Linked DNA regions of Homo sapiens: regions 1, 2, 3, 4, 5 and 6 are each linked to region 7. Evidence: promoter capture Hi-C in 16 types of primary human blood cells and fetal thymus (Javierre and others, 2016). All regions are on one chromosome and are shown on one strand. Each heading gives the region's core, a stretch centred on a gene start or on the middle of the fragment in contact. The rest is flanking DNA. Distances are from core to core; before and after follow the strand shown.

What was found. The method cuts DNA at HindIII sites, captures the fragments that hold promoters and counts their contacts. A CHiCAGO score of 5 or more calls a contact.
Region 1: a contact is called between the fragment with the promoter of TKT here and the fragment with the promoter of SELENOK in region 7, in 1 of 17 cell types (neutrophils). The highest score is 6.3, in neutrophils.
Region 2: a fragment that was not itself captured here is called in contact with the fragment with the promoter of SELENOK in region 7 in 15 of 17 cell types (non-activated CD4 T cells, activated CD4 T cells, total B cells and 12 more); the score reaches 16.5 in non-activated CD4 T cells.
Region 3: a fragment that was not itself captured here is called in contact with the fragment with the promoter of SELENOK in region 7 in 2 of 17 cell types (fetal thymus and naive CD8 T cells); the score reaches 7.3 in fetal thymus.
Region 4: a fragment that was not itself captured here is called in contact with the fragment with the promoter of SELENOK in region 7 in 7 of 17 cell types (total CD8 T cells, naive CD8 T cells, total CD4 T cells and 4 more); the score reaches 8.4 in total CD8 T cells.
Region 5: a fragment that was not itself captured here is called in contact with the fragment with the promoter of SELENOK in region 7 in 1 of 17 cell types (fetal thymus); the score reaches 5.4 in fetal thymus.
Region 6: a contact is called between a fragment that was not itself captured here and the fragment with the promoter of SELENOK in region 7, in 1 of 17 cell types (fetal thymus). The highest score is 5.2, in fetal thymus.

Annotation. Positions count from the first base shown.
Region 1 is chr3:53,254,648-53,258,225 of GRCh38, reverse strand. TKT (transketolase) reads left to right here and starts at 2,204. Exons shown (of 14, transcript NM_001064.4): 1 at 2,204-2,390. The coding sequence starts at 2,284. RefSeq lists a silencer at 1,918-2,607. The HindIII fragment of the contact is 25,611 bases long and covers 1-3,578 here.
Region 2 is chr3:53,338,606-53,341,862 of GRCh38, reverse strand. All of the region lies in intron 3 of DCP1A (decapping mRNA 1A), which reads left to right. Among named protein-coding and RNA genes, the nearest start is that of SNORD38C, 7.1 kb to the right of the region's middle. The HindIII fragment of the contact is 5,444 bases long and covers 1-3,257 here.
Region 3 is chr3:53,168,231-53,171,622 of GRCh38, reverse strand. The region is part of intron 2 of PRKCD (protein kinase C delta); the gene reads right to left. Among named protein-coding and RNA genes, the nearest start is that of PRKCD, 8.7 kb to the right of the region's middle. RefSeq lists a silencer at 1,302-1,351 and enhancers at 2,548-3,228, 3,229-3,392. The HindIII fragment of the contact is 164 bases long and covers 1,968-2,131 here.
Region 4 is chr3:53,309,704-53,313,042 of GRCh38, reverse strand. DCP1A (decapping mRNA 1A) reads left to right here. Exons shown (of 10, transcript NM_018403.7): 5 at 664-802. Among named protein-coding and RNA genes, the nearest start is that of SNORD38C, 22 kb to the left of the region's middle. The HindIII fragment of the contact is 482 bases long and covers 1,430-1,911 here.
Region 5 is chr3:53,109,441-53,112,970 of GRCh38, reverse strand. RFT1 (RFT1 glycolipid translocator homolog) reads left to right here. Exons shown (of 13, transcript NM_052859.4): 7 at 1,063-1,141. Among named protein-coding and RNA genes, the nearest start is that of RFT1, 19 kb to the left of the region's middle. The HindIII fragment of the contact is 7,624 bases long and covers 1-3,530 here.
Region 6 is chr3:53,151,045-53,154,284 of GRCh38, reverse strand. No RefSeq gene overlaps it. Among named protein-coding and RNA genes, the nearest start is that of PRKCD, 8.5 kb to the left of the region's middle. The HindIII fragment of the contact is 2,784 bases long and covers 38-2,821 here.
Region 7 is chr3:53,890,414-53,893,684 of GRCh38, reverse strand. SELENOK (selenoprotein K) reads left to right here and starts at 1,826. Exons shown (of 5, transcript NM_021237.5): 1 at 1,826-1,915. The coding sequence starts at 1,897. RefSeq lists enhancers at 1,548-1,847, 1,738-2,638. The HindIII fragment of the contact is 7,183 bases long and covers 1-2,526 here.

The sequences.
Region 1 (3,578 bases), core at 955-3,454, 640 kb after region 7:
GGCCTGAGAGACTCTGTTTCTGGGGTCTGCTCCTGAGGTCTAAAGCACCCCAGTGGTATAACAAGGGTTGGGGGCAGTTCTAAGCCAGGGGCCTGTATATGCATATCATAGTATCACAGGCCCCATTCATGTGGAACACCAGGAGGAGAGAGAGCCTCCCTGAGGTCCCTGGAGCTCCAGGTGGTGGGGAGGGGACAATTTTCTTTCCATTACTCCTAGGTCCCCAGAGCCATGGTGAGTTCTGTGCCATTGTCAGAGACCAGAGTGATAAGGATGAGTCCCATTAGGCAGATGGGGAAATGGAGTCCACTCCCTTAGGGAGCCACTGCTCTAAGGGCCACAGAGTTGGAAGGCACAGAGCTTTCAAAGGGTTTCAAGGGTTTGCCCTTTTTCCAGACAGTGAGCAGCTTGAGGGCAGAGGTGGCACCTGCCAGGCATCTGAGGGTGGCACACTGTGGGGCCCCCCTCCAATCCTAGCCCATAGCCCTCACCAGCCAGACACCATAGGGCCAGCCTCTGCGGGCTGGGCCAGCAGGAGCCAGGTGCTATGGGATGCCATACTTAGGGTCTGATTGGGCATCTGGGGGTCAGGCCAGCAGAGGAGCACCTGGAGGCGAGCTGGGGGACTCACTCAAATTCAGTCAATCGCCTCATGAGCCAGAGCTCTCTGAGTATGGGCAATGCAGGGAGGACACAGAGGACACAGGGCGGCCACTGGTGCCTCTTGGATCTCTCAGGGTTTTAGCTCCCTGCCCAGCCATCCGTTTGAGGGTCTTGCCTTTATCTTTCCTCTGTCAAATGGAGCTTCTTCCTCTGTAAAATAGGCATTGTAGGCAGTATGTACCTCACTGGCCAAGTGTGGTGGGCAGATTGAATGAAACAGTGTCTGTGATGAAAGTCCCCTCCCTAATCCCACTCTGGGGAGCTTCATACCTCTGGGAACCATGGGGTCTGATAACAGTAGTGGTGGGTGCCCCTGTCCCTACAGACCTGGAAGCAAACCCAATAATCTCCCTAAAAGTCAGTAGTGTTTCTAGGCCCTAATAATTTGTAAAGGATCTTCCCCTAGTAATTTCTCAGTTATCATCACCTGGCATTGTCATGGCTACCACTATCCTATTCTCATTTTCAATAATCCCCATCCCCTGTGCAGGGCTCTAAAGCCCTGAGTGGCTGGGCATGGTGGCTCATACCTATAATCCGGCACTTTGGGAGGCAGAGGAGGGCAGATGGCTTGAGCCTAGGAGTTCAAGACCTGCCTGGGTAAAGTGGCAAAACCCCATCTCTACAAAACATACAAAAATTAGCCGGGCGTGGTAGTGTGTACCTATGGTCCCAGCTACTTTTGAGGCTGAGGCAGAAGGATCACTTGAGCCCAGGAGGCTGAGGCTTCAGGCAGCTGTAATCACTCCACTGCATTCCAGCCTGGGTGACCATGGGTGACCCCGTCTCAAAGAAAAAACAAGTTTTTTAATTATTAGAAAAAAGAAATAGGGCCTGGTGCGGTGGCTCACCCCTGTAACCCCAGCACTTTGGGAGGCCGAGGCGGATCACCTGAGGTCGGGAGTTCAAGATCAGCCTGACCAACATGGAGAAACCCCGTCTCTACTAAAAATACAAAATTAGCTAGGTGTGGTGGCGCATGCTTGTAATCCCAGCTACTAGGGAGGCTGAGGCAGGAGAATTGCTTGAACTCAGGAGGCGGAGGTTGTGGTGAGCCAAGATCATGCCATTGCACTCCAGCCTGGGCAACAACAGCGAAACTCAGTCTCAAAATTAAGTCCTGCAGTCTCTTGGGCCTGGGGTTGGTCGGCTGGGGCCAAGCCTGGCACCCACCAGCCTTGTGACCTTGATTGCCCTTGCCAAGCCTCAGTTTGTCCATCTCTAAAATGGGATTCGCCGTGACAAGTCCACGGAGGACTGTGTGGAGGAGGGAGACTGAGAGGCTTTCGAGTCAGGAGCCCAGACTCGAATCCTGAGTTGTTCGTTATGTTATTATTATTGGTGTGTGTGGTTAACTGCTAACCTCGCAGTCCGCAGCGGCCCAGCGCCTAGGGGAGGGGAGCGGGCAGGAGGCGGCCCCAGGCGGGGCGGGGCTGAAGGCCTGGGGTGATCCGAGCCCCGCCTCCTCCCCCTGCCCCGCCTCTCCCATCCCCGCCCCGCCCCGCCCGGCGACTTAACGCGCCCCCGCCCCGCGCCCGGCCTCGGCAGCCGCCTGTCGCCGCGGGAGCAGCCGCTATCTCTGTGTGTCCGCGTGTGCGCCCGGTCCCCGCCTGCCGCACCATGGAGAGCTACCACAAGCCTGACCAGCAGAAGCTGCAGGCCTTGAAGGACACGGCCAACCGCCTACGTATCAGCTCCATCCAGGCCACCACTGCGGCGGGCTCTGGGTGAGTGCGCGGCGCCGGCCGGGGACGCGGCTCGGGCGGGGCGGGGGGCGTCTGCGGCGGCCAGAGTCGCCGCGGGCTCTGGGTCGCGCTGCGAGATGCCTAGACGAGGAAGGTGGCCCGGGCGCCGTCGGAGGGCGGAGACGCGCGCCTCGCAGGGCCCCGGGCTGCAGGCGGCTTCCGCTGCGCCGCACACTCGCCCTACGCCCGGGCTCGGCCGCGTGGGCCTCTGGTCCTCCGTGCGCCTCAGGCCGGCTCTTCCCCACGCGGATCGCCGGCCGCGCAGCTGCATGGTGGCGCGGGGGATGGGCTCGCGACTCGCCAAGTACCCTCTAGGGTGATGCCGGGAAGGCCACCATTACTGCTGTTCTACAGAACGCGGCCCTCTTAACCCTCTCCACCACCTGGCTGTGTGGGCGCCGCCGGGAGTGTTCCCCCTTCCAGATGGGGAAACGGAGGCTCCGAGTTAGTCAGCTACCCAAAGTTACACACAGGGAGATCTGATTTGAGCCCCAGCAGTCCGACTCTAGAGACCCTGTTTTTAATTCCTCTTGCAGGAGACTCGGGGGCCCGGCCTTCTCCCCACCTCAGACTACGCTCCCCTACCCCTGTCTCCTGCCACCCCTGGGTTGGGTCCGAGTTTGGAGCAGGGGGCTGCTGAGACGCCAGGCAGCGGCGGGGCTGATTGGGGGAAGAGGGGAGGAGGGCGGTGGCACGTGGGTGCAGAACCCTGGGATCCATTGTGAAAAGGAGGTCTAAGATTTGACCTGGGGCGGGAGGAGGCGGAGGGCAAGGAGACTGAGAAGGCTGAGCGCCGGAAGGACGGAGTTCCAGGGCCCTAGCGCCGGGAGTGACGTCCTGGGGCAGGGCCAGCCACCAGGTGCTGTATCTCCCAGGCAGGAGCTGGCGTGCCTAGGCCCCAAGATCCTTCCCTGGCCAGCCCTTTTGGCCCAGAAGGTGGACACCCAAGGAGCCTCCTCTGTAGCGGAGACAGGGATAATTAATGAGGGCCACCGTGCATGCAGCTGGAGGTGTCCAGTGGGGTGGGTGAGGGGGTCAGTCAGTGAATTACTTCAGAGCCTGCTTCCCGCTCTGTAAAGCGGGGACAGTAATGGCACTTAACCACGCTGGGTGGTTTCAAGGACTCCAGTGCTCTACTTGGAGGCTGCTTTGAGGCCACAGTGCCAGCAG
Region 2 (3,257 bases), core at 169-2,668, 550 kb after region 7:
TCTACTAAAAATACAGAAAAAAATTAGCCGGGCTTGGTGGCAGGCGCCTGTAATCACTTGAACCTGGGAGGTGGAGGTTGCAGTGAGCTGAGATCGCGCCACTGTACTCCAGCCTGGGCAACAGAATGAGACTGTGTCTCAAAAAAATAAATAAATAAACTGGGCTCTGAAACTGGAAACATTCTTTTGTATATAATTTAGTTTACTATTTCATTTAATAGCACTACATTTCTGTTGTCGGTTTATTAAAATAAGGTTTATGCCTTTGTTTTTTTGCAGCTGTGGACTATCAGCTGCCCATGTCCCTAAGCAACAGAACTTAGTTTGGGACACACAGGATGGGAACAGATACAGATAATTCTTTCCACAAAGAAAGTATTATTATTACTATTATTATTTTCTTTTTTTTGAGACGGAGTCTTGCTCTGTTGCCCAGGCTGGAGTGCAGTGGTGTGATCTAGGCTCATGCAAGCTCTGCCTCCCGGATTCATGCCCTTCTCCTGGCTCGGCCTCCCAAGTAGCTGGGACTACAGGCACCCGCCACCACGCCTGGCTAATTTTTTTGTATTTTTGGTAGAGAAGGGGTTTCACCGTGTTAGCCAGGATGGTCTTGATCTCCTGACCTTGTGATCTGCCTGCCTCGGCCTCCCAAAATGCTGGGATTATAGGCATGAGCCACCACGCCCGGCCAGAAAATATTATTTTTGCCCAGAATAGTGGTGATGGGTTTTTTTTTTTAAGATATTTATTACTTTTTCTACTTTATTTTGTCTGAATATGTTTCTAAGTAAGGTTTTTCTATCTGTTTATTTAATTGAGTGTCTACTGGTTACCAGCACTGAGCCAAGAGCTGTGGTGCTTTAATGTTAACGATACAGTTACCTATGTGGTGTAAGCAGGCAGTTAAGTCAACTGAGACTCAGAGATGCATAACTATTACCCTGTTGGAGAGTTAGGATTATGACTATTCTTCTGCTTTTTAGTCCAGGGTTCTTTCAGGCATTTTTACAATCTCTAATAACGATTGGATGTAGTCAGCAAAGCTAGAGTGGCCCTTCCAAGAAACTACAGTACTAAAAAATATACTTGATTCCAGTGTATTAGTATGGATATTGAAGGTATGGGTGTTTGAGGACAGTTTGTTGGACATTGACTATAGGGATATGAAAACTGGTTATGGTAACAATGATTGTGCTCTAATTGGCATCTAAGGATATAGTTGGAGAAATGTTGCTTCTAACTTAAAAAGTAAAAGTTAATGTGTTTGAATTTCACTTGGCGGGGGGGTAATTGGTCTTGGGGGATGTCTTCAGTATAAAATAGAAAAAGTTACTAAAAATTATACACCTCTTAATTCCCTGAATGAGAAGTAACAAGGCCTATTTTAAAGCTAGAAACCCCCAAGTTCTTTTCCGTAGCACACTTTGAAGTATAAGTGAAATAGGTTCTATCTTTTGACTTCTCAGTAAACTATTTGTCCAGGTAATTACCTCTCAGATTTTAAATTCTGTGGACATATTAGACATGCTTTGTAATAGCTGTAAGTTCAGATGGATTTATTTAAACTAATGTTAACAATGTAATTATTTCAGATTGCTCTTTTCTTTGTACTGAATATTCCATTAAAGGGAAAATTCGGCTGGGCAAAGTGGCTCAACACCTGCAATCCCACGATTTTGGGAGACCGAGGCAAGCAGATTGCTTGAGCCCAGGAGTTTGAGACCAGCCTGGGCAACATGTCAAAACCCCCACTCCACAAAAAAATAGAAAAATTAGCCAGGTGTGGTGTCACACACTTGTAGTCCCAGCTACCCAGGAGGCTGAGGTGGGAAAGTCGCTTGAACCCAGGAGGCTGTCCAGGCTGCAGTGAGCCATGATTGCGCCACTGCACTCCAGCCTGGGCAACAAGCGAGACCCTGACTCAAAAAATGAAAAGAGGGTGGGAGAAATTCTGCAAATGAATATGGATCCAATTTTTTTTTAAGTGAAATAGGCTTAATTCTGTTCTTTACTGCCTGGAAACTTAATCTAGCCATCACTCCTAAGTGGTTTGATTATTAAAGTAGTCAGTAGGGAAAGTTATCCGGACCCAGTTACCATTTAGCATAAACCTGAGATGAATTGTATTATATTTTTTTCACAAGGCAAAAGTCCTGTGAAATTGAAAGTGTGACATAACACAAATGTAATTGAACCATGAGTAACCAGAAGCTAACTAATTAGAGCTTCAGTTGTCTGGAAATATTTTTATAGTTCGTGTGTGGAAGAAATGAAGGCAAATTATAAGAAAACAAGCTAATACTAGGTTTTATTTTCTGAAAATCAAGCAGATATCCAGAGAATAACCTGGGGTCGGCATTAAAATGTCAATATTTTATAACTTTAACTCCACTGTAGTATCATAGGTTAAATTGTTATAGTGAGACCTAAAATCATCAGGAGTATTTATTATGTTAACTAGAACATTCTTGGGGAGAAAGTGCATTAATGCATTTTACTTTAGAAAATTTTCAACTGATTGAAACAAAAGTTTTCTTAGTTGAACAGAAAACTCACTTAACCAGGTCATTTCATTAGGGAAAGTATTTAAAGGAATAGCTGTATTGGGGAGAAGTGATAAGACAACAGAAAATGATTTTGTGAGTGTTAAGCCCTCTCGAGTGTGTGTTTTGTCTACATAGTCTTAAAAGTGGAAAATAGTCTTGTCAGGTCAGCGAGCTATTAAGTTGTTTAGGGATTTGTTCTTTAAATAAAAAGTTAGTATCTGATTATGCATACAGGTAATTATACCTGATTCTATAGCTGCACTTCTGCCATTCTCTTGTGGGAAATACCATCAAGACACCTGACCCATTTAACTCAAGTGACACCTTCATATCCAACTTCTTTCATTCAAATTAATTTTTGGAGTTAATGTACTAGAACAGTGAACCATAACTTTTTTTCAGTTCTAAGTTATTTGTTTTATTTATTTTTAAGAGTTTTTCTTTTTTTTTTTTTTTGAGACGGAGCCTTGCTCTGTCACCCAGGCTGGAGTGCAGTGGCATGATCTTGGCTCACTGCAAGCTCTGCCTCCCAGGTTCACGCCATTCTCCTGCCTCAGCCTCCCGAGTAGCTGGGACTACAGGCGCCCACCACCACGCCCGGCTAATTTTTTCTATTTTTAGTAGAGACGGGGTTTCACCGTGTTAGCTAGGATGGTCTCGATCTCCTGACCTCGTGATCCACCTGCCTTGGCCTTCCAAAGTGCTGGGATT
Region 3 (3,392 bases), core at 800-3,299, 720 kb after region 7:
AACCTCTGCCACACCAGGCCCATGGAACTTACAGCCTGGTGGGAGCCAGTCACATAAATATGTGATTACAAAGGATGGTAAGACCTCTGTAGGATGCGCCACGCAGGCAGTGAGTAGCAGGGAGTGAGGGGGGCTGGAGGAGAACGGAGGCTGCAGGGACCTGTTGGCTGGGGGCCTTCGATCTGAGGGGTCAGCAGGAGCATAATGGCCTGCCCTGCCAGAGGGTCTGGAAGGTTCAGAGGGGCAGGACTTGGGAGCCTGGCTGTCATCGGCTCACATCCACCTCTGCCAGCTTGTGTGGGGTAGGGCCTCCTTGGAGGGAGGCCACCAGGCACAGGCCTCGAGTCACCAGCCAGCCCTAGGATATGAGGAGTCCTGGGCTCAGTCAGAGGGCGGTGCCCCAGGTACCCCTGAGAGAGGAACAAAGGCCCCTTCATGGCAGGAGCCAGAGAGCCAGATCCTGTGAGGACAAGGGGCCTCTGTGAGGAGCCAGGGTGGGGGATGCAGCCGGGCCTCTCCACGAATAACCACACGTGTGCACACAGGCACACTCGCCAACCCAAACAGCACATAGGGAGCCCCACTCGACATTAGACACACACGCACACAGTTGGAGCCACAGGTACGTACACACACTGCTGTGATGACACAGGGGCACACGTACACACACACACACACACACACAGAAACACACATGCACTCACCGGCTCTCACATCTCAACAGATACCCGGGCCCACACAGACCACACCCGACCACATAGGCTCCACACGCACGTGGAGTGCCACAAGCTGTGATGTACACACTGGCACAGAGATGCTCCAGGCAGACACAGAAACAAACATACAGTCCTGGAAGGACCCCACATCCCTGACTAGAGTCTGGCACCATGAAGTCCAAATGCAGCTTTTTCCACCACAGCCCCCAGGCACAATGGCTGGGGAATGGAGGAGGGGCAGAAGGGCAGCTGGTGTCAGGCTAGGCTGGGCCTTTCCACCCAGGGAGACGAAGAAAGTCCCTCTTGATCCAGAGCAAAGTCTAAAGTGTGTAAGGGAAGGAGTGGGCTGGTCAGGCACATCACTGGGCAGGCCTCCGCCCGCCCGCCCACCTGCCTGCAGGGCCCTGAGGCTATGGTGGAGGTTGAAGGTCACAGGTGGCAGTCACAGGCCTGGCGCGCAGGGGGAGGGGAGGGCTTGAACCTATGTTGGTAGGGCAGCAAGCCGGGCACCCCAGGAGCAAGTTCCTTGAGCTCCAGGCTCACTGTGCAGAAACCGAAAGAGAGGTTGAGCAATTCAACCAAAGCCACAAAGCCAATGGGGCAGACCCAGGGGGAAGTGGGGAGAGAACTTCCAGCTCTAGTCCTAGAACTGCCCATCTGGCCTCCAATGGGGTGAGGGTATGTGTTTGGAGATGGGAACAGCTCCTCCATCAGCCCCCAGTACAAGAGCCCTACTCCTTAGCCCTTCTTTCTCCCACAGAGTTCCCACGATTTTCCAGATGGTTTACCATTGGAAACAATCGTTTTGTGTTTGGGAGAAGGCAAGATGGCCACCTAACCCTTTTGCCAGTCATCCCCAGGATCTGGGCAGGATCCACATGATGCTTCCCCACTTTGGGGATATTGAGAAAGCTGGGAGAGAGGCAGGACCATCCCGCATGGTGCGCCATCCCACAGCAGGCAGCGGACAGAGGAACCGGCGAGCTTGGACCTAGACAGGCCTAGCTCAGATCTGCTGCCTGGGTGCTCCGCGATCTTGGCCCAAGTGCTCTGGTGTCTTCCAGACTTCCTTGGAAAGTGGGAAAAGAGGCTCTGTTAAGCCCCCCAGCCGCAGGGTGCCCTGTTCTGGCCTGAGGCTCTGGGCAGAACTGGGCTGAAGCAGGCAGCATGAGTCCACTGGCAGAGGCTGGCCAGCTACTGCCCCTCCCGGGGCTCCAGCCTCCCTGTCTCAACAATGGAGACCTCTAAGCTTTCTCCAGCCCTGACACTGGAGGACCCTGGGATCCTCCTCCCACCCCAACAACCCCAGCCCACAACCTACACCACGCAGACATCTGATCTAGCCTCAGGCCTTGGCGACTGCCTGCTCTGCTCTGCCTGTTTACCCAACACGGCCATAGACATGATCCAAAGCTTCCGGAGCTGTTGTGAAAACAGCGGCTCAGCCACCACAAGCCTGCCCTCCTGGGTGCCTTGGCAGAGACCTTTGAGGGACAGCCATCCCAGTCCTGTTCGTGGGCCTCTCAAATGCTCCCCCACCCCTTAGAAGGCCTGTTGAGCCCTCTCCTCCCCAATCCTGGCTTTAGGCTCCCGTCTCTACTTTGGGCCCAGACCCTCCTGAACTTCAGGCTTGTGGCCCCACCTGCCTCCCTGGCTTCACCACATGAATGACTCCAGAAGAGCTCAAGCCTGCCCACACCAGTCCCCCGCCGTTCCCCTCCCAGCGCTCCTCATCCACTAGGAGTGCACGAGCTCAGGCAGTGGCTCAGGCCAGACAGCTCCCCCTGCTCCCCACACAATAAGGCCATCCCGTCTGCCGCTGCAGCCTGTCCTCAAGTCTCAAATCCTCTTCTCCCACCACCACCATCCCCAGGCTCTGCACCTGTCTTCTGACTGCTCTCCATCCTCTACCCCGGCCCGACAGTCCCCCTGTTCCAGCCACCAGACGGGGCTTTTCAGACAGATTTTGTCACCCCCTGCCCAAGCCCCCAGTGCCTCCCATTGCCCCTCTGACAAGCCCAGACTCCTCCCCTCAGCCTGCTCCATGCAGCCTGCCCCCCGCCACCCCCCTCCCCATCACCGTTACCTCCCTGACCTCTCGGGCAGGCGCTGCCTTTCCCTCATTCCTGTGCCCCAGCCACGCTGACCCCTTTCAGTTCCCGAAGCAGCCAGTTCCTTCCCGCTTAGGAGCCTCTGGGCTTGCTGTTCCGTCTTCCTGCTCCACCCCACCCCACACAGTGGCTCCTTCCCATCGTTCATGTCTCACAGGACACCACACCCCGTGATCTGCCCATTTCACAGACGAGGCAAGTGGGGAACGGTCCAGTCCCTGGCTCAAGTGTGCACAGCCAGTAAATATTGAGCAAGGATTCAACCAGGGTCTGTCTGATGCCTGCAGAAGTCCTGCTCCTAAGCCTTCAGGATACCCTCAACCACACTTCCCGCCCAGGCCCATCCACCTTTCGCTCTCCAGCCCTCAGGCCCCTGCTGTTTGCATCACTGTCCTTACCACTCCTCAACACTCCTCATCCCCAGCCTCTGGGCCCCACACAGTGAAGGCCAATGCTTAGCCCAACCCTAACTGTGCTGACCTTCTTCGTGTCCCTGGGACAGGCTGGGCCCTGCCCCCAGCTGCCATGGGTGTAGGGGGTTTTCTAGCTCCCCCTACTCTTCTAG
Region 4 (3,339 bases), core at 421-2,920, 580 kb after region 7:
GTGGAACTGTCAGTTTTCATATTTACTTTAGCAATTAGTTTGACTGATTTTGAAATACTTCAAGGGAAAAAGGGAGAAACCTTAGTGGAGTTTGTAATGCATCTCTGCCAACTCTAGGAAGGAATTCTGTATTTTTATCCTTCTGAAGGGTAAATATTGGCACTGTTAATGAGACGGTGAAATGGTAAGTCATTTATTTCTGAAATGAGGTAACTGAAGTTCTGTGTTATATATTGCAAGAATAATGTAATCGGCTGGGCGCGGTGGCTCAGGCCTGTAATCCCAGCACTTGGGGAGGCCTAGGGCAGATCACGAGGTCAGGAGATTGAGACCATCCTGGCTAACACGGTGAAACCCCATCTCTACTAAAAATACAAAACATTAGCCGGGTGTGGTGGTGGGCGCTGTAGTCCCAGCTACTCCGGAGGCTGAGGCAGGAGGATGGTGTGAACCCAGGAGGTGGAGTTTGCAGTGAGCCGAGATCACACCACTGCACTCCAGCCTGGGCGACAGTGCGAGACTCCATCTCAAAAAAAAAAAAAAAAAAGAAGAATGTCATCATGTGACACTCTTAGTGTATCCTTGGAAGATGAACACCAAAAGAAATCTTGGGTCAGATTTTGTTTCAAGAGGCCTTTCTAAAACCTTGTTCTTCTCCTCTAGTGTGGTAGAAGAGGAGACACGGCGATCCCAGCAAGCTGCTCGGGACAAACAGAGTCCCAGCCAGGCCAATGGCTGCAGCGACCACAGGCCCATCGACATCCTGGAGATGCTGAGCAGAGCCAAGGATGAGTATGAGAGGGTGAGGCTCTCTGGGTACTTGGGTGCTGACCAGGGAAGACCAAAACGGGAGGAGGAGGTCTGCAGGAGACTATTTTACTAGGGAAGCTGGCCTCCAGGGACGGCAGAAATATAAGTTCAAAAAGAGAGCGTGTTAGCACACTCCTGTAATCAGTCCCAGCTACTTGGCAGGCTGAGGAAGGAAGATCACTTGACTCCAGGAGTTGGAGGCTGCAGTGGGCTATGATTGTGCCACTCCACTCTAGTCTGGGCAACAGTGAGACCCTGTGTCTCTCTTTTTTTTTTTTTAAAACAGATGTGTCTTACAATTTTAAACCTAAAACATAAGGAAAGAACTTGCTTACCCCAGATTACTTGTTTTTGGCAGGAAAATTTACAATGCTTTTTTCTATTCCTATAAGATTACTATGGGAGAAGATGGTCTTGGAGTGCAGAAGTTAGCTCGCAGCAGCTAGTTCTGGTAAAGCTTCGTGCCTCTTCTTCACCACTGCAGTTTCTGTTAGGATCCTCAGTGGTCCTAGGAATTTGTTTAGGCTTTGAAAAGTATTCTGATAGTTTGTACCACATAATACTAAAAAATACACTCATGGTCTGTAATTGGTGGTAGATGCACAACCTTCATTAAGCTTCATTTGGAATTTTACCCAAATGAGAGGCTTTTCTGAAATTCACTGTTTTCTTTCTCTTCTGTTGTGCATTTTAGTTTATAAATTAGCTGATAAAATTTTCTCCCAAAAGTTGAATAAAATGGCAATTGTGGTACTTTCGTTAATTTATTCAATACCTGCTTATGAACCATCTACTATGTGCAAGCAGTGGGCATTTCATGGTTATGACTCTCCTGGAATTTTACTTGGCACCTCAAAGCCCCCACACTTCACTGGAGTGAGACAAGCTCTCTACTGCTGAACTTTGTTTTAGCAGAATTATACTGTCACCTTACTCTTCATTAAATATTGAATTAAGTGCTTTCCTTTCATGCCTATTTCACCTCACCAGAACTTCAAGGAACAAAATGTGAAAAAGCACTGTCCAAAAGACCCTGTTTCCCATACAGTTCTGCTATAATACCAGCTACTAAGTTATTAATCAGTGATCCTGAAAAAAGCTTCAAATTGGCAAAACGAGTTAAGGTACTGTTGTTAGCATGACTCTTCCTCCTCCCATCCTCTTGGGACTTTACAGAGCTCAAAACTGAGAGGTCCTGCAATAAGTAAAACAATAACACCAATTCCCAGATTGACTTGACTGCAGGACCATTTTTTGCATACTGCCCTTTAACAACTCAAGAATTTGGAGTTCAGGAAAAAGTTTGAAAAAAGTGTTCTGAAAGATAGTTTCTTCTGACTAAAAATAGGCATGTTCACCATAAACTACATAGACCTTCTACATTCTGATAACAAAGGAAGTCCCACCTCCAGGGTGGAGAAATGTACATGAGAGCCCATGAGAAGTTTCAAGTTTGTACCAAATTCTTCAATGTCTCACAGAGAATTAGGAGGAATGAATGGATCTATGGAAGTTAAATTTGGAGGAGCAGTCACCTCTCTAATAAATTAATCGATTCTTAGGAAACCAAATGAGAACTAACTTCAAGAATGGCTTTCTGATTTAGAAGTTACCTTACATTCCCCTCTTCTACCCTTGATGACAAGCGGATTTTCTACGTACATACTTTGTTCTGTTTGTAGAGCCCTTTCAGTGTTCTCATAGGTACCTAGTAAGTCCAGGGCTCTGTCACTCATCCTGAGTAATAACTGTATCAAGGTACCACACGGGACAGAAACTGTAGGTGCTGCGCACTAAAGCAGATACTCCAGTAAGTGGCCTGGCTTACTCAGGCTGAGAGGTTAAGTAGCCACAACGAGAAAGTAGGAAATAAGACATTAGCTTTGAACACAAAACTTTAAAGGAACTCTAGGGTCAGGTGGGCAATCTAAACATCTGACATTATTTTGAATTATATCAATATTACAAAAGGAATATAGATAGCATGATAGTTTCTGTTTTAAATAAACTTCTTTCACACTATGGAATAAAATATCGTCTATGGGTAGATTAAAATGAAACCCTTTGGGATTTGGTTAAATCTTTGATATTTACTTTATCATGTGTTCTTTCTGATTTTGAAAACTGTCTGCAATAGGTGGAGCTTCTTTGAATTAGAGTTTTGTTCTCTTATCTGCATTTGTCTATCATCTCATCAGATGGAGCTGGTATAAGCAGTGACCCATGAATTCATGGGTCTTGGTGTTTGGATGGGCTCCCTTCAGCTGCCACATTTTTTCAGACGGCCCCTTTGTTTATCTTTAGGTGAAGACTCAGAAGATTGGCAATCAAGGGCAGGGGTGCAAGCTAGGCCTCAGTGTTGGGATTTAATCCTGATTCTGAGTCTCCGCTATCTGCTGAGTATGATATAATGAACGAAATTTCAGACTTTTGAATGAGCACTTGTAATAATGAGACTCTTTTCTTTTTTCAGACAGGGTCTCTCTGTTGCCCAGGCTGGAGTGCAGGGGCACAATCTTGGCCCACTGC
Region 5 (3,530 bases), core at 339-2,838, 780 kb after region 7:
ACAAGATAGAGGAGGGGGCCCCAGAGAGAACTGTGGGAGGTAGAAAAACAGGAGTCAGAGGATACCGAGCTCCCTGGCTGCCTTGCTCTTCCATTTTGTGCTCAGCTCCCTGGCTTTGAGGCCACCTGTCTCTTAATAGGTTGACCTCTACCCTACCTAAGTGTTTCCTTGTCCTTAGGAAATGGGCCATTTGGTGCCGCTGGGAGTTTTATTTATTTATTTATTTTTGAGCCAGATTTTCGCTCTGTCATCCAGGCTGAAGTTCAGTGGTGCCATCTTGGCTCACTGCAACCTCTGCCTTCCAGGTTCAAACGATTCTTGTGCCACAGCCTCCCAAGTAGTTGAGATTACAGACACGTAGCACCACGCCCAGCTAATTTTTGTATTTTTAGTAGAGATGGGGTTTTTGCCATGTTGGCCAAGCTGGTCTCAAACTCCTGGCCTCAAGTGATCCACCCACCTCAGCTTCCCAAAGTGTTGTGATTATAGGCGTGAGCAACCTCGCCTGGCCTGGAGTTTTAGAAGAGTCATATCAGAAATTTTATTTTCTCCGTTCCTCTGTCATACCCATTCTGAGTGGTTTACCTGACCTGCGAAGGCTAAATTTCTTTTGTAATGCAGAAGGGCAGCTCCTATACTTTGTGTAAAAGGGCCCTGGATGGCTGAACATAGCATTACAATGTGCAGTATATGGAGCAGAATTTCTTCTGCAGCCTGGCATGCTTTAGACAGTTTTTAAGGAAAGAACAAACTGTGAGCTGTACGTGTTAGCTGTGGTCAGTGTACTGTGTGGGCCCCCAAGGGACAGCAGCAATTCTTTAGGGGTCTCAGTATATGAGTCTTGGGCAGGCCCTTACAGACTTTGGCTTTGTGTTTAGTAATGTAAATTCTTCTCCAGTGTTTGTGAGATGCCTTCTGTGTGCTTAGCATTGGATGAGGATTCAGTGGAGACTATCCAAGTTGGGATTTAGAGACCAGATTGCATTTGCCTCTCATGTAGCATTGCATTCTTAGACTTGCAACGCCTGTGATGTTTTTGTTTTGTTTTGTTTTCTCTTCTAGGCGTTTATAAACTGGAAAGAGGCTAAACTGACTTGGAGTTTTTTCAAACAGTCTTTCTTGAAACAGATTTTGACAGAAGGTAAGTAGACGGTCACTCTGAATCGTCGGGAGACCATAGTAGAAGGGGATTTCATAGGACTGCCAATTACCTGGGTCCAGACCACCTGTCCAGAGCCTCTGGGGCAGAAGAATTTCAGAAATGGGAGGAGGGGGCTTAATACGGAGAGAGAAACCAACGTCTGTTTAGTTTGATGCTTTACTTAGTGGTCTAATTTAAATCTCTCCACAGCCTTATAAGAAACATATTGTTCCCCTTCATCATGGATGAGGAAACTAAGGGTCAGTGAGGTTGCAGAATTTCTTTAGGGTTTTATAGTAACAAGGAACAGCTTAACTGGGATCCAGGTCTAACTCCAAAACCCCATGTTATATGATTTTTATGAATTTATTATGAAAGTATTATATCAGTTACATAAAAGTATTTTTATCATTTTTTTTTTTTTGAGATGGAGTCTTGCTCCGTCGCCCAAGCTGGAGTACAGTGGTGCTATCTTGGCTCACTGCAAGCTCCACCTCCCAGATTCATGCAATTCTCCTGCCTCAGCCTCCTGAGTAGCTGGGACTATAGGTGCCCACCACCACACCCAGCTAATTTTTTTGTATTTTTAGTAGAGACGGAGTTTCACCGTGTTAGCCAGGATGGTCTCGATCTCCTGACCTTGTGATCCGCCTGCCTCAGAGTGCTGGGATTACAGGCGCGAGCCACCACACCCAGCCTTTTTATCATTTTATATCATTTATTTATATCATTTTATTTTCTTCTTCTTCTTTTTAAAAATTATGTCAATTCCCTAATCCTGGATTTATTTTCTTAAACAACAAAATGCACTTGTATGAGAGTTTGGTCAGACTTTGGTCCTTTCAGTTTACCTACGACAGAGCTCTCAATGTGGAGGGCCAGCAAGGGGCTGGAAGCACATTTAGTTTTTGTATGTATATGTGTTGGTTTACTTATACCCAGCTTTAATTTAAAAAGTGAGATTTAAGACAGCTGTAAGTTGCTGAAGGTAGTAGTTTCTCTCTTCATATATATTTCATATCCATATACCTATTACTGAATGTATTTTTAATCTTTTCAAAAATTTTCTTTTAATTATAAAATATAGTCCCGTTAGAAAAAAATAAGAAAATAGAAAAAATAATACTAGCATTCTAATACAACTGTTATTATCTTGTTATTTTATTTCCCCCCCATCTGTATTTTTTGTTTATTATGTCTCCAAAAGAAAGCAACTCCCCCTATGCCTCGCTTTCCCCATCTGTGAATAAGGGATAGGACCAGGCAGTGTCTGAGGGCTCTCTGATCTTTGAGAGTACACACGTTTCCAGCCTAACCTTATAACTTTGCTATTACAAAAATGAAACCGTTCCGAGGCCTTCTCGGGGAAGGGAGGGTCAGAAGCCTCAGAAGAGCTGAGTGAAGGGCCTGAGCACTTAGCTCCTGGGGAGCAGAGACTGTGCCGTTCACTACTGCCTCCCTGTGGCCTGGTACAGGAGGGCTATTCAGCATGTATTTGTGAATGGGGTAAGAAAAGCAACAACGTAACTATTGTGAAATGTGTATGATGATAGTTCACATTGTTGTAAGAACAGGAAAATCGGTGGAGTGAGTTTTGGAAAGGACGGTTGCTCATATGCATTTTTTTCCTTCCAAGGTTTTAAGAGCAGTTTTAATAAGTTTGAAGGAATGGATCCAGTCCAAGTGATGGCCCTAAATTGGTTTTCTGGATTGCAGACAACACATGTCTCTAGACATGTCTTTGCAGCAGCTGGTTTAAGTTTACTGCAAACTAAAGCCTCCAGAGCTCGACCTGAATGTGGTGCCAGGAGCCTGCTCCATGGTTGGATCCCCCTAGCCTGACTCCCTGACTGGCAGAGTGCCATTAGGAACTTCTCAGGGCCTCCATCTCCTTGGCTGTGAAATAAGGAAGTTGCCTGACTGAGATCCTCAGATTCGATATATTTTTAAAACTACAGCTCTAAAAAAGTTGAAATCCCTGGTGGTTTTTTTTGTTTTTTGTTTTTTGTTTTTGTAGATAGGGTCTCACTCTGTCACCCAGGCTGGAATGCAGTGGTGCAAACACAGCTCACTGCAGCCTTGACCTCTCGGGCTCAAGTGATCCTCCCACCTCAGCCTCCCAAGTAGCTGGGACTACAGGCAAGGCACCTACCATTACGCCTAGCCAATATTTTAATTTTTTTGTAGAGACAGGGTCTTGTGATGTTGCCCAGACTGGTCTTGAACTCCTGGACTCAAGCGATCCTCCTGCCTCGGCCTCCCAAAGTGCTGGAATTACAGGCATGAGCCACTGAGCTCAGCTTGAAATCACTTTTTGTAGTAGCAAAAATGTATGTGCTGTTACTTCTGCCCCCACATTTCCTGAACACTATGCCAGGTGCTGAGAATA
Region 6 (3,240 bases), core at 180-2,679, 740 kb after region 7:
GCCACTGGAATCCGGAGGAGAAGGCCCCAAGGAAGCTTCCCCCACTCCCCAGACTCTGGAGAAGGCAGGCAGCAGCGGAACCACAGCCTCCGTGGGTGTGCTCTGTGGGTGTGCACAGCATAGCCATGGTGCAAAGGAAGAAAAAATGAACTTTCTTCCCTCGGGCCAAAGCCTTTCTCTGAGAGAGGGTGGGAGGGGAAAGGATTCCCAGCCCCTGGGCAGGATCCCAGTGGGCCTGCGCTGGGCAGCCTTCTGCCCTGGACCCACTATCAACCTTCTGCACACACGATGTTCTGCACCCCAGCCAGGCCCCAGCTCACCGCAGAATCTTGCACAGATCTCTCTCCCCTTGGTGCCTCACACTCCCCATCCTGACTTCTGAATTCATTTGTTTGTCCCCATGCCATCACCTTGGCCTGGGCTTCCAGTGTCCCTTGTCTGGCCATCTGTGATGGTCTCCTCTGTTCAGAATACCACCTCCCCACCTCCAGCAATTCTTTTCCTTCACAGCAGCCACATAATCCTCCTAAAGTGTCAAGGACTACTCACTCCCCAGCCCTGAGGCTGACCATGGATCTCTCAGAATAAAGGTCAAACTTCTACTGTGGCCACCTGGCCCAGTGTGACTTAGCCTCTGCCGCCTGTCCCCCTGCCAGCCCAGAACTCCAGGAATAGGAACGTCTTCCAGTTCCTACCAGACAACATCCTTCAACTTCTCACCCCTGGGCCTTTGCCCATGCCCTTCCCTCTGCTTAGCACACCATGCCTAGCTAACTCCTCTCAGTCTTCTGGTAGATTCTAGCTTAGTTACCTCCTCCTCCAGGAAGCCTCCCTGGCTAACCTCTTAAGCCAGGTTAGGTAGTGCTCCGACATGAGGGCAATGTGTGTTTTTCATCCCACAACACAATCCAAGACCTCCTTCCTCCCTCTGCCTCCCCACCCATCTATGTGTGGCTGCCAAGCCACAGTCTGATGCTCCATTTCATCTCCCAGTTCACTGAGGAAGACAGAATAGGGTTACCAGGAGGAAGTGAGGGCAGGGGATGACCGGGGACATCAGGATGCCTCCTACATCCCTGTCCTTCACGTGGGAGCTGGTATCACTGACTGTCCCCCAAATGTGCCTCCCCTGGATTGCCTCAACCCCACACCACCACTGATCCAGGTCCCCTGGCTATCCCCAGCTTTGAGGGAACCCTAGAAGCTGAGGGGCAGGCCAGCTTCCCAGATCTTGTCTGCCAGGGGGCCCAGGTGGGTGTAGGGTGAAACTTCTGGAAGAAGGCTAAGCGCTGAAGTGCCTACCAGGCTAGGGTAGGCCTGGGCAAACATTAGTGAGCAAGTTTGTGTCCAGGTAGTGAGTTGTGGCAACACTGAGGCTTCCACGGGCCCTCGGTGGACACACACAATGCCAGTGAGCCTGCGGAGACGCTGGACCCTCAGGTAGAGGCCTGCTCAGCCATGCCTCTGACTGGCTGCAGGATCCTGGCAGGGCCTTGCCCCTCTCGGTCTCTGTGGCTGCAGCTACCCAGAAAAGGTGATGGGACAGTAGATACTAATTTACCTCTGCTACCAGGGAGAGGCTGAGTGATTAAAAACCGCCTATCAGGACAACCTGCAGAGTAAGAGCAACCCCAGTTTACAGTTGAGGAAGTCAAGGCTCAGGGAGGCAAGCCCAAGGCCAGGTAGCAGGGCCAGGCCCGACGTCTGTGCGAGGCTGGACGAAGGTCAGGACGAAAACCTGGTGGCTTCAGAGGCAGGTGTGCCCAGGCTGCAGGCTTCTCCTCCTGGCTCAGCCTGCTCTAACTGTGTGACCTCAGGCAGGTGGCTCAGCTTCTCTGAAACACGATGGGAGGATGATGAAAGACCCAACGGTCAGTGGTCACATGGACTGACTGATGGAGCAAGGGAGAGGAGGAAGAAGATGCCTGGCTTCCTTGCCGGTTGAGCACAGGGTCTGATGGGAGGATGGACAGGAGTGGGCAGCCACCTCATTGCTGTCTAATTGCCTACACCTGGGGTAAAGCAGGGATTCCCGTCCATCCCAGAGACGAGGAAACTGAGGCTCAGGTGAAGCCCGGCCCAAGGCCACACAGGTTGTTGCAGGGCGCTGAGGCAGGAGTCCAAGACCTGGTGTGTTCACGTGTCCTGCGGAGGGTCTCAGCCCCTTCCCTAGCCGAAGACGGATGCTGCCCTGGGGCCAGCTCTGCTGCCTGGTAGTCAGTTCTGACAGGGACGTGGCCAGGACAACGTCTCAGGAAACTGGAGCCGGGGTGGACATTCTGCAAGATCTGCTTGCAGGGGACCAGATGGTGACCTGGACTTCGGCCCATGGCCCACCAGAGGAAGGGAGGGAGTCCCACAAGTACCTGTTTTCCTCTGACACAGAGGTTCTGGGCTGGAGCCTCCCTGCTGTTGCATGCCTGTGTGACTGCCCTCCAGGGTCCCCTCTTCCTCTCCTCATGCCTGAGGGGCAGCCCAAGCCCCTGAGCCTGAGTCCGCTGAGGGAGTCAGAATGCATGAGTGAAAGGGCCTATTCTTACGGAGGTGTTGAAAGTGGTGGCCAAGGTCAGGAGTGTCCTGGGGCTACTGGGGGCTGGTCTTCTGGCAGGGAGCTCAGCCACTCAGCTATGTGACCCTGGGCACATCACCTTCCCTCTCTGGCTTCCACTCGCTGCTAACAGAGGCTCATAGAGAGTAGACAAGAGGAGGGCCTAGCACCGTGCCTGGATCAGAGCGAGTGCTCAGTGGATTATTGCCAGCTTTGTTATTATGATTTAATTTGTTAACCTCAGGGTGTATTTTAGGGTAGGACAGGAAAGCTTGCATGCCTCAAGCCCTCTGTATAAAATCTAAGGCATGGCTTCATATGGTGGCTCATGCCTGTATTCCCAGCACTTTGGGAGGCCGAGGAGGGCAGATCATTTGAGGTCAGGAGTCTGAGATCAGCCTGGCCAACATGGTGAAACCCCACCTCTACTAAATACAAAAAATTAGCCGGGCGTGGTGCCGCATGCCTGTAATCTCAGCTACTCAGGAGGCTGAGGCACGAGAATCACTAGAGCCCGGGAGGCAGAGGTTGCAGTGAGCCAATATCATGCCACTGCACTCCGGCCTGGGTGACAGAGCGAGACTCTGCCTCAAAAAAAAAAAAAAAAAAAAATTTCTGTGCGAGGGCCAACAAAGCAGGGAAGGCTTCACCAAAAAGGTGCCCTTGGTGCTGGGCCGGGAAGAGCAAGAAGG
Region 7 (3,271 bases), core at 577-3,076:
AACCAACAAATATCTGAGCACCTACTACTTGCCAAGAACTATGACAGACCTTGAAGATATAAAAGACAATAAGGCAGACAGGATTCCTGACCTCTTACGTCTTATATTTTCTTGAAGACAAGAGACAAATCAATTATCAGACAGTTTCACAATGTGAATTACTATGAAGAAAATAAACACGGAGATGAGTGGCCAGGGAAGGGCACCCAGAAGTGGTGACAACTAAGCAGAGGGCTAAAGGATAAAATGAGCTGGATGTGCAAGGAGTCCGAGGAAGAGGGTTCCAGGTAGAGGGACAAGTATGGGCAGAGTCCTGGAGGTATCAGTAAAACCCGGGGTGTTCACAAACTAAAACAACAATGTTGCCAGAGCATAATCTGGGTGGGGGTGTTCATAAACTAAAACAACAATGTTGCCAGAGCATAATCTGGGTGGGGAGATGTGGCTGGAAGTACAGTGAGAGGAGCAATCAAGAGGACAAGTCACCTTGGGCCTGCAGGCCATGACAAGGAACTGGATTTTAAGAGCAATAGGAAGTCACTAAATTTTAGTGTCCAAAAGGTTTTAGGCAAGGGAACGAGATGATCTCCGTTTTAAGATCGATCTTGCTACAGTTTGTAAAACTGCCTAAGGATGGTAAAAGACTGAACCTGAGATTTCATTTAGAAGGAAACTAGCGTAGAGCAGGTGAGAGATGATGGTGGCATGGTCTAGATTAAGAAAGGCCCTTGGGAAAATTAACGGCCCTGCCCTAATATTTTTGCAGAAATGATCCTTTATGATTGTGCTGCACAAATCCCAAATGAGGTGAAGGATGTTGTCTTGTCCTATTATGAACTTTTCTGGGGAAAATGCTCTCTCCAAAATCAACATAAAATTAGATCTTTGTCAGTTCTAAGTATTAGAACATAAAATCTTAACCAAAGTTGTTAAACTCAAAATAGATTTTCAGCATGTAATTTTCATTTTCTGGAAGGTGATTAGGAATCTTTCCAAAGAGATGACACATGGCTTGAGAACTGGGGGCGGGAAGTCAAAGGAAGCAGCCATTAGGTCTCCACGCTGAAAGAATAGCTAAGTGCAGAGGCCTTGAGAAGGGAATGAAATGGCCACGTTCAAGGAACAGAGGCAGCCCACTGGCTGTAGCAGAGTAAATATCCATGGTATGTGGTCCACATTTACTGAATGTCCAAGACATGTCTTCTAATTCGTCTGTCACCAAAGTGGTCATAAGCAGTCGCCATCAATAAGAAACAAGCAGAGAAAGGGCCTACAGTTCAATTTATTTTTCAGTTGCCTCACAAAAGGCTAAGAAAAACTTAGTTTCTGGTGAACCCAGGTAGACATGCTCATTTTAAAGAGAATGAATATATCTAGGAAGAGCCTGGCAGTATATTCCCAAAGGCGTGACAATAAAGTTCCTTAACGTGTAGTCAGCACCCTCAAACGTCAACACGTCTGGAAAATTCGGAAGCGTTTCCTCCTGTCAGCGGCCCTTCAAGCTACCTCATACAGGGCAGCCTCTCCTACCCAGACCCGGAGCCTATCAATCGACGAGAAAACAGCTTCCCCTCACTGGGCGGTGCGAACCAACTCTGCACGATCAAGTCGGATAGAGGACTGGCAACCGCGGGCACTACAGGGCAGTCCTTAACGTCATATCCGGTTGTCAGCTCGGCCGCCTCCGCCTAACCAGAAGTCGCAGATGTGACGATGCAAAAACGCCCGTCGGGGGCGCGTCTCTTTCAGCAGCCAATGGGCTCTGCCCACCTTCGTCCTCGTCAGCATTTTGTCTAATCGCGGCCTGTGACGCTCGAAGGGCGGGGAGCAGAGGGAGATACAGAAACCGACAGGGGCCAGGCGCCCGGTGGCTCCGAAGCGGGGAAGTGGGACAAGATGGTTTACATCTCGAACGGTAAGTTGAGAGCGGGCTGTGGCTTCGACCGGTGACTTGTAAGATCGGACTCCAGGTTCCTTTCATCGTCGCTCGCTGAGTCTTGAGCCCGGTGCGGCTTCCCCGGGCTTAGCGCCCCGCGGCCGGGCGGAGCTGGACCGAAGTCGCCTCGGCTTGCGGCGCGTCAGCCGATGGTCTCTGAGCCGGCAGTCGGGGGCCGAGGTCCCGCCGGCCTCACGTTGAGTACTGGGAGCCCTGCAACCCCGCCTTCGTGCAGCAAGCGCTTGATTGTGGATTTGCGAGGGTGGTCTTTCCTCTCTCGGGTGTCGGTATCCTTAAAACTAGTAAGGACAATGATGCCGACGCTGTACACGTAGCGCTTGTGCCCTGGACAGTGTTTCAGTTATTTGCTTATCGTCACATTCAATCCTGTTTTACGGGTGGAAACTCTGAGGCTCAGATAGATTAAATAGCTTGCCTGGGCTATTTAAGTCACAGAGGTAACTTAATGGCTGAGTCGGGATTCGATCACAGGTAGGCTGACGTCAGCGTCCTTGTTATCTGTTATGCTGCCTCTGTCTACAACGTGTAAAAAGACCGAGCCGACCTAGGATGATAATTAGATGAAAGCTTTGCATAGGCTTTTTCCCCAGGAAAGGGTAGCTAGTCAAACATGGAATTTTTTGCTCGAATTTCAAGGGGCATGGGAAGAAGTACTATCTTCCCCTAGGAGCAAGTTAATTATTACCGGAATGGAGAATCCGAGAGACTTAATTCTGCGAACCCACAAAGAAGATGACCGGAAAGGAAGGACATGACTGTGTCAGATCAGTGCTAGAGCTGCCTGCCCACCTGTTTGACTCAGGTGAAATTCTTTGGTACAGTCTTAACAAGGAGTTGTGGATCATTGGAACTAGGTCTTGGTTCTATTTGAGTCATCTGTTTTTCTCCAGAGACGAGTAAGGTAGTCAGTGAGGAGCCTTCTGGCTGACTGCACTTTTGCATTTCTTGACTTTTAAAAATCTCCCCTTCTCATCTCCCACTTAAAAATCTTTGAAACAAGTAGATTGATGGACACTACAGAAAAGCATCAAAATTTCATCTTAGTTTTGGGCGCTTTCAGACTTTAGTCTGTTTTATAGCCTGTTTTATAGCCTTTGTGATATAAGCTTAAGGCTGGAAGCTTCTGTATGAATTATTGAATAATTCCTTGTATTTGTTGTGTCTTACTGTGTTCGCATTATTTCATTTGGTCCACATAAGTAGCCGATTAGGACTCTTTATCGTACTTTAAAAGTTGAGAAACACAACTGCATTCAAACACCTTACTTCTCTCTGGGGATATTGGTGGAAGGGACATTCTGCCTTAAGAAAGGG